3 separate regions of the Homo sapiens genome follow, and all the other regions are linked to region 2. Evidence: promoter capture Hi-C in 16 types of primary human blood cells and fetal thymus (Javierre and others, 2016). All regions are on one chromosome and are shown on one strand. Each heading gives the region's core, a stretch centred on a gene start or on the middle of the fragment in contact. The rest is flanking DNA. Distances are from core to core; before and after follow the strand shown.

Region 1 (2,700 bases), core at 176-2,675, 240 kb before region 2:
AGCCGGGCATGGTGGTGCGCACCTGTAGTCCCAGCTGCTCAGGAGGCTGAAGTGGGAGGATCACCTGAGCCTGGGAGGTTGCCTTGGAAGCCGAGGCTGCAGTGAGCTATGATTGCACCACTGCACTGCAGCCTGGGCGGCAGAGCAAGACCGTGTCTCAAAAAGAAAACCAATTAAAATAAAATAATGTTATTAATCCCCTAGTGAGTACAGACAGACACTGTTTTAGGCCCTGGGGATTTAGCCATGAACAAAACCAAGTCCCTGCCCTCGCAGAGCTGATAGCCCGGTGTGGGAGACAGAGGAAAATGAACAGATGAGCAAGATAATGTTAGCCTGGGCTGAGAGCTGTGAAAGAAATAAACAGGACGAGGGAGAGATGGCCTGGAGAAGACACATTAGGTTAGGCTTTTCTGAAGAGATAACATACGAGCTGAGACCAGGAGGAGAAGCAGCCAGCATGGGTTGAATGGGGGACCGTGTGGAACAGGCAGTTGGAGGAGCAAGTTCTTTCTTATTTATTTATTTAAGTTATTTTTTGAGACAGAGTCTCGCTCTGTCGCCCAGGCTGGAGTGCAGTGGTGCTGTCTCAGCTCACTGCAACCTCCACCTCCCAGGTTCAAGCAATTCTCCTGCCTCAGCCTCCCGAGTAGCTGGGAGTACAGGCATGCACCAACATACCTGGCTCATTTTTGTATTTATTTATCTATTTATTTAGAGATGGAATTTCGCTCTTGTTGCCCAGGCTGGAGTGCAATGGCATGATCTTGGCTCACTGCAACCTCCACCTCCCAGGTTTAAGTGATTCTCCTGCCTCTGCCTCCCGAGTAGCTGGAACTGCAGGCACACATCACCATGCCCAATTTTTATATTTTTAGTGGAGATGGGGTTTCACCATGTTCGCCAGGCAGGTCTCAAACTCCTGACCTCAGGTGATCCGCCTGCCTCGGCCTCCCAAAGTGCTGGGATTACAGGCGTGAGCCACCATGCCCAGCCTATTTATTTATTTATTATTATTATTTTTTGAGATGGAGTCTTGCTCTGTTGCGCAGGATGGAGTGCAGTGACGCAATCTCGGCTCACTGCAACCTCCGCCTGACGGTTTCAAGCGATTCTCCTGCCTCAGCCTCCTGAGTTGCTGGGACTACAGGCACGTGCCACCATGCCTGGCTAATTTTTTGTATTTTTAGTAGAGACAGGGTTTCACTGTGTTAGCCAGGATGGTCTCGATCTCCTGACCTCATGATCCGCCCGCCTCGGCCTCCCGAAATGCTGGGATTACAGGCATGAGCCACCGCGCCCAGCCTATTATTTATTGAGAGACGGAGTCTCACTCTGTCGCCCAGGCTGGCGTGCAGTGTCACGATCTTGACTTACTGCAGTGTCCGCCTCCTGGGTTCAAGCTGTTCTCCTGCCTCAGCCTCCTGAGTAGCTGGGATTACAGACGTGGGAGACCATTCGGGCTAATTTTTGTAGAGACGGGGTTTCACTATGTTGGCCAGGCTGGTCTCGAACTCCTGACCTCAATTGATTCACCCACCTTGGCCTCCCAAGGTGTTGGGATTACAGGCGTGAGCCACCGCACCTGGCCTCCCTGACTCTGTGTGTGTGTGTGTGTGTGTGTGTGTGTGTGTGTGTGTGTGAGAGAGAGAGAGAGAGAGAGAGAGAGAGAGAGAGAGATAAATGGGATGGAAAACGTCTCGGGGGTAATCAAGCCTTTTTTTTTTTTTTTAATTTTTTAAAGAATGGGCGTCACCACCCGTTTTTTCTTCTCCCGCAGAGATCATCGACGAGTACATCAAGGAGAACGGCTTCGGCCTGGACGGGGGACAGCCGGGCCCGGGCGAGGGGCTGCCACGCCTGGTGTCTCGCGGGGCTGCGTCCCTGAGCACGGTCACCCTGGGCCCTGTGGCGCCCCCAGCCACGCCGCCGCCTTGGGGCTGCCCCCTGGGCCGACTAGTGTCCCCAGCGCCGGGCCCGGGCCCGCAGCCGCACCTGGTCATCACGGAGCAGCCCAAGCAGCGCGGCATGCGCTTCCGCTACGAGTGCGAGGGCCGCTCGGCCGGCAGCATCCTTGGGGAGAGCAGCACCGAGGCCAGCAAGACGCTGCCCGCCATCGAGGTGGGCCCGGCGAGCGGCCCCGGGCGGGTGGGACTGGGGCTTCCCCTGCACCCCGGAGCCATCCACATGCATTTATACGTTTATTTGATGGTGGCTGTTGTTGTTATTGTTGGACCAGATATTAATTATACTATCACCTGGCCTGGAATCCAAAAGGTTCAGAAAAAAGGAGGGGTCGGACATTTGGCTGGGCACGGTGACTCGCGCCTGTAATCCCAGTACTTTGGGAGTCTGAGGCGGGCGGATCCCTTGATGTCAGGAGTTCGAGACCAGCCTGGCCAACATGGTGAAACCCCATCTGTACTAAAAGTACACAAATTAGCCGAGTGTGGTGGCACAATCCCAGCTATTTAGGAGGCCGAGGTGGGAGGATTAGCTGAGCCCAGGGAGGTGCAGGCTGCTGTGAGCTGAGATTGCACCATTGCATAGCAGTCTGGGTAACAGAGTGAGACCTTGTCTCAAAAAAAAAGAAAAAAAAAAAAGAAGGCAGATCGTGGTGCGGTGGCTCAGGCTTGTAATTCTAGCACTTTGGGAGGTCGAGGCGAGCGGATCACTCGAGCTCAGGAGTTCTAGATGAGC
Region 2 (2,700 bases), core at 123-2,622:
TTTTTGCCCCCCATTATATAGTAATTTTACTGTGCAGCTACAATAGACGTAGGTAACCTCAAGATCACAGATAATGGCAAATGTAGTAAGATAACTAGGACGTGATGAGTATGTATTACTTGTACCTTTAATGTAATTTAATTGTATGTTTGCATAATTTAATTTTTAATAATGGCTGTGTTTAACAACCAGTTCCAAAATTCCTGAGACATAACAATCAGCTCGCTCCAGCCAGATCCAGCACACTGCTGTTTTAGAAGGGGAAACTGAGGCTCAGGAAAATAAGCCTCAGATAGAAGAAGGCAGGGCACAGACCCCTTCCCAAAACCATGTGACTCCCAGGCCAAGACTATGTAATGCCTGTCTTTCTTTCATCCCACCCTGGTCCACAGAGCATGGATGGTCCCCACAGCGCTGTGTGGCCTCCGAGAGGCTCTTGTCCTCTCTGGTCTCAGCCTGCCCGCATGGGGAGTGGCTGTGCCCTGCAGGCGAATACCTGCACAGGGTTCCTTCGCACCTGCCAGTGAGCAACACACGGATTCTTCCTTTCACTTTACAAACTGGGAAAGTGAAGCCCAGAAAGGGCAAGTGCTTGCCCCGGGTCATACAGGTGGACAGAGAGGGTCCCCACACCCCAGCTGGGGTGCAAAGGAGTGGATGCTGCAGCCCCAACCTGCGGGTCTGGATCTATGTGGCTGAGTGGAGGCAGCCTGACTAGGGAGGTCACTGAGCCCTCAGCAGTGGCCAAGCCCCGCACACCATCCCCTTCACCCACCCCACCCTTAGGCCTCCGAGGGGAGAGCTTCCCCCGCTCCCCCCCGCCAACTGGGGAGAGAATGGGCCAGGGGGAGGGACAATGTGGGCAGCGCCTCTGGGGTCTTCTCTGGCTCAGTCCCTTTATCTCTATCTCTTCACAGATCTCTGCGTCTCTGTATCTCTTTGTCTCTCCCTGTGTGTGTGTGGGGTCTCTCTCAGTCTTTGTCCCTCTGCGTCTCTGGGTCTCTCTGTCTCTGTCTCCCTGCGTCTCTCTCTCTCTGTCATCTGGCTCTTCCTTCATCTCCTTGCGCCTCTCCACCCTTTTGTAACTCGTCTCTCTCTCTTCGTGTCTCTCTATCTCTACGTCTCTCGATCTCTCTCTCTGCGTCTCTGGCGCTCTGCCCCGGCCTCTCTCTCCCCTTCTCTCCTCTCCAGTGCGCCTCTCGTCTCGGGCGAGAACACGCTCCCCGCCGGCGTGCCCAGACCCGCCTCCGCCCCCGGAGCCCCCGGAGCCCCCGGCGCCCCGACCAGCCCGGGCCTGCGCCTTTAAGGGCCGGCGGCGGGGGGCGGGGTCCCGGCGCCCCGCCCTGCCCGCCCCTCCCCCTGACGTCCCTTCCTCCCTCCCCAGCCCCTCCACCGCCTCCCTCCGCCGCCGCTTGGGCCGGCTCCGCGCCCCCTCCGCGGCCCCCGCCCGCCCGCCTGCCCGCCGCCCCCATGGCGCCCGGGGTCCCCGCTGCACGGGGCCACTAGGACCCTCGGCGTCCCTTCCCCTCCCCCGCCCTGCCCCCTCTCCCGCCGCGCGGACCCGGGCGTTCTCGGCGCCCAGCTTTTGAGCTCGCGTCCCCAGGCCGGCGGGGGGGGAGGGGAAGAGAGGGGACCCTGGGACCCCCGCCCCCCCCACCCGGCCGCCCCTGCCCCCCGGGACCCGGAGAAGATGTCTTCGCGGACGGTGCTGGCCCCGGGCAACGATCGGAACTCGGACACGGTGAGTGGGGCCCGGCCCCTTGGGGAGCCCTGGCTGGGTCCAGCCGCCAAACCCTTCTCCCCGTTGTACCCCTCGCCCCGCGAGCCCCTACCCTCGTTTCCTGGGCCCGACCCGGCTCGTCACCTCTCGACCCCTCCCGGACTTCCAGGCCTCTCCACCCTCCCCACCTTTTCCAGCCCAGCCCGACCCCTGGGGGCGCCCCTCTCTCGGGACCCCTCTCTTGTCCCCGTGCAGACCGCTTCCGCTCGGGTCTGTTCCCTCCAGGAAGCCCCTTCCCCTGCTTCCAGGAGCCCCTCCCTTCTCTTGCCTGTGCTAAGCCGTTTCCCCTCCAGGCCGTCCGCGTCCGACACCTCGCCCCCTCCCGGATTTGCAGGGCCCCTGACCCCCCAAGGCCCGGCCCTGGCACTCTCAGCAGGGCCTGGCCCAGTCCTGCCTCTGGCTCCGGCCTTCCCTGTCTGGGGCTGGGTGCCGGCTCCCCAGGAGCCCCCCTCCTCTTATTCCCAGCCCTCTGCCCCTCCAGGACGCACCCAGGGCGCCTGTGGGCAGCCCCTGGCAGGAAGCTGGTTTCCACCTCTCCTGGGCCCCGGCCCTTTTCTGGCTTCTTCAAGGTCTCTCCCGTCCCAGGCCTGGTCCCCATCTTCCAAGCAGCCCTGTCCCTAGATCCCAGCACCCCGGGGCCCCCAGATGCCACCTGGACCCTTTCTGGTCTCTTCCTCTCCCAGGAAGCCTTGGCCTCCAACTTCTAGGCCCTCACCTCACCCAGGCTGGTATTTCTAGGCCCTGGACCAGTCTGACTCCAGGCCTCATCCGCCCTCTATCAACTTCTCAGCTTCAGGCAGCCCCTTCCCCAACCCCCAACCTCTGGACCCCCTGCTAGGCCAAACTCAGACCCCTTCCCCACAAACCACCGTCCTTTCTCCTGCCCCAGGGCCTCCCCCTTCCTTGCTGGGAGTCTGGCC
Region 3 (2,700 bases), core at 167-2,666, 210 kb before region 2:
TCCCAGCACTTTGGGAGGCCGAGGTGGACAGATCACAAGGTCAAGAGATCGAGACCGTCCTGGCTAACACGGTGAAACCCCATCTCTATTAAAATACAAAAAATTAGCCAGGTGAGGTGGCGGGTGCCTGTAGTCCCAGCTACTCGGGAGGCTGAGGCAGGAGAATGGTGTGAACCGGGGAGGGGGGCAGAGCGGAGCCTGCAGTGAGCTGAGATAGCACCATTGCACTCCAGCCTGGGCGACAGCGAGACTCTGTCTCAAAAAAAAAAAAAAAAAGACTGTCTCAAAAAAAAAGGAGTGAATATTAAGTGAAACCTGACCACTTCCCTCTCCTGTCTGATGCTTCAGTTGTTTTTGCGGGGAAGACCAAACTATCCCTGGCCTAAAAGACCCTTGTGGTCTGACCACTCAGCTTCATACTCGGACAGCTCCACTGGCCTTCTATTTCTGCCACCACAGGGCTTTGGCCTATATTACCCCCCCTCACCTATTTAACTCCTGTGTATCCTTGGGATCCCAGCTTGAAATGGCACCTGTTTTCTAGGTTCAGTGTTCCTGTCAGATGACATTTATATAGACCTTTCCCAGTTATTCCTGTATTACTGCCCCAGCCTCCTCCCTGGTCTGCTGGCCTCCAGTCCTGGCTCCTCCAGTCTGTCCTTCCTAGAAGAGTCCAAGAGGCCTTTCTAAAGCACAAAACTGACCCTGTCCCTTCGTTGCTCAGAGCACCTCTATGCCTCCTAAGTGCCCTTGAGAGAAAGCCCAGGCTCCTCACTGTGGCCTTTAGGGTCCTGCATGGCCTGGCCTTTGCCCTTCCTCCAGACTCACACCACCCCACACTCTGCCTTGTTCCTTTGCACAAGTCATTTTGGCCTCCTTGCTATTCCTCCACTGACCCAAGCGCTCCCCAGCCACAGGACCTTTGTATGAGCTCTTCCCATACCTGGTTAACTACTGCTTATCTGTCAGATCTCAGTCCTCAGAGAAGTCTTGTTTCCCAAGCTCAGTCAGGTGTCCTCTAAAAATGCCATAATCATAGCTCCCTTTCCTTCCCCTTTGTGGAATTTAACACACTTAAGATACACATACATGGGCCTGGTGTGGTGGCTCACGCCTGTAATCCCAGCATTTTGGGGGCCAAGGCAGGTGGATCACCTCAGGTCAAGAGTTTGAGACCAGCCTGGCTAACATGATGAAACCTCGTCTCTACTAAAAATACAGAAATTAGCTGGAGGTGGTGAGGAGCCTGGGCTTTCTCTCAAGGGCACTTAGGAGCCATAGAGGTGCTCTGAGCAATGAAGGGACAGGGTCAGTTTTGTGCTTTAGAAAGGCCTCCTGGACTCTTCTAGGGAGGACAGACTGGAGGAGCCAGGACTGGAGGCCAGCAGACCAGGGAAGAGGCTGGGGCAGTAATACAGGAGTAAATGGTAATCCCAGCTACTCGGGAGGCTGAGGCAGGAGAATTGCTTGAACCCGGGAGGCATAGGTTGCATTGCTCTCCAGCCTGGGCAACAGAGTGAGACTCCATCTCAAAAAAAAAATTTATATATATATATATATGTGTGTGTATGTATGTATACACACACGCACACACATACGCATACACAGGTTGAACATCCCTAATTCAAAATCCGAAATGCTCCAAAATCTTTTTTTTTTTTTGAGGCAGAGTCTTGCTTAGTCGCCCAGGCTGGAGTGCAGTGGCATGATGTCAGCTCACTGTAACGTCCACCCCCCAGGTTCAAGCTATTCTCCTGCCTCACTCAACCTCCTGAGTAGCTGGAATTACAGGCATGTGCCACTATGCCTGGCTAATTTTTGCACTTTTGGTAGAGACAGGGTTTCACCATGTTGGTCAGGCTAGTCTTGAACTCCCGACCTCAAGTGATTTGCTTGCCTCGGCCTCCCAAAGTGCTGGGATTACAGGCGTGAGCCACCACGCCCGGCTAGCTCCAAAATCTGAAACTTTCTGCATACTGACATGATGCCCCACTATAAGTGGAAAGTTTCACATATAAGTACTTTACACAAACTTTGTTTCATGCACAAAATTATTTAAAATATTGTATACAATTACCTTCAGGCTGTGCTTATAAAGTATAAATGAATTTGGTCTTTGGACTTGGGTGCCATCCCTAAGATATCTCATTATGAATAGACAAATATTCCAAAATCTGAAAAAATCTGAAGCACCTCTGATCCCAAGCACTTCAGATAAGGAATACTTTGTGTGTGTGTGTGTGTGTGTGTGTGTGTGTGTGTGTGTGTCCCGTCTCTACTACAAATACAAAAAATTAGCTGGGCGTGGTGGTGGGCACCTGTACTCCCAGCTACTCGGGAGGCTGAGGCAGGAGAATGGCATGAACCCGGGAGACAGAGCTTGCAGTGAGCCGAGATAGTGCCACTGCACTCCAGCCTGGGCGACAGAGCGAGACTCCGTCCCAAAAAAAAAAAAAAAAAAAAAAATTTTTTCCATTCATACGTATATGCACATACCCAGCTCTGTGAGACTGGGGACTAATTATATTTGGGTCACGTTTGTACCCTAGGGTTGGGTCCATCAAATATGGTTTGAAAGAATAGATGAATAAAACAATATTAACAATAGTAATTAACCATTTAATTGATCCTTCGCAGGCACCCCCAGGCCATGTGAGAGATGCAGGATTTTTTTTGAATCCCCACAGTCACCTGTGAGAC

What was found. The method cuts DNA at HindIII sites, captures the fragments that hold promoters and counts their contacts. A CHiCAGO score of 5 or more calls a contact.
Region 1: a contact is called between a fragment that was not itself captured here and the fragment with the promoter of MARK4 in region 2, in 1 of 17 cell types (M0 macrophages). The highest score is 5.4, in M0 macrophages.
Region 3: a fragment that was not itself captured here is called in contact with the fragment with the promoter of MARK4 in region 2 in 1 of 17 cell types (non-activated CD4 T cells); the score reaches 5.4 in non-activated CD4 T cells.

The regions. Positions count from the first base shown.
Region 1 is chr19:45,010,156-45,012,855 of GRCh38, forward strand. It overlaps RELB (RELB proto-oncogene, NF-kB subunit), which reads left to right. Exons shown (of 12, transcript NM_006509.4): 4 at 1,781-2,121. Among named protein-coding and RNA genes, the nearest start is that of RELB, 10 kb to the left of the region's middle. RefSeq lists an enhancer at 1,478-1,979. The HindIII fragment of the contact is 8,461 bases long and covers 1-2,700 here.
Region 2 is chr19:45,249,899-45,252,598 of GRCh38, forward strand. It overlaps MARK4 (microtubule affinity regulating kinase 4), which reads left to right and starts at 1,373. Exons shown (of 17, transcript NM_001199867.2): 1 at 1,373-1,741. The coding sequence starts at 1,691. RefSeq lists silencers at 1,048-1,427, 1,658-1,807 and an enhancer at 2,281-2,700. The HindIII fragment of the contact is 10,557 bases long and covers 1-2,700 here.
Region 3 is chr19:45,040,969-45,043,668 of GRCh38, forward strand. The region is part of intron 2 of CLASRP (CLK4 associating serine/arginine rich protein); the gene reads left to right. Among named protein-coding and RNA genes, the nearest start is that of CLASRP, 3.3 kb to the left of the region's middle. The HindIII fragment of the contact is 4,283 bases long and covers 1-2,700 here.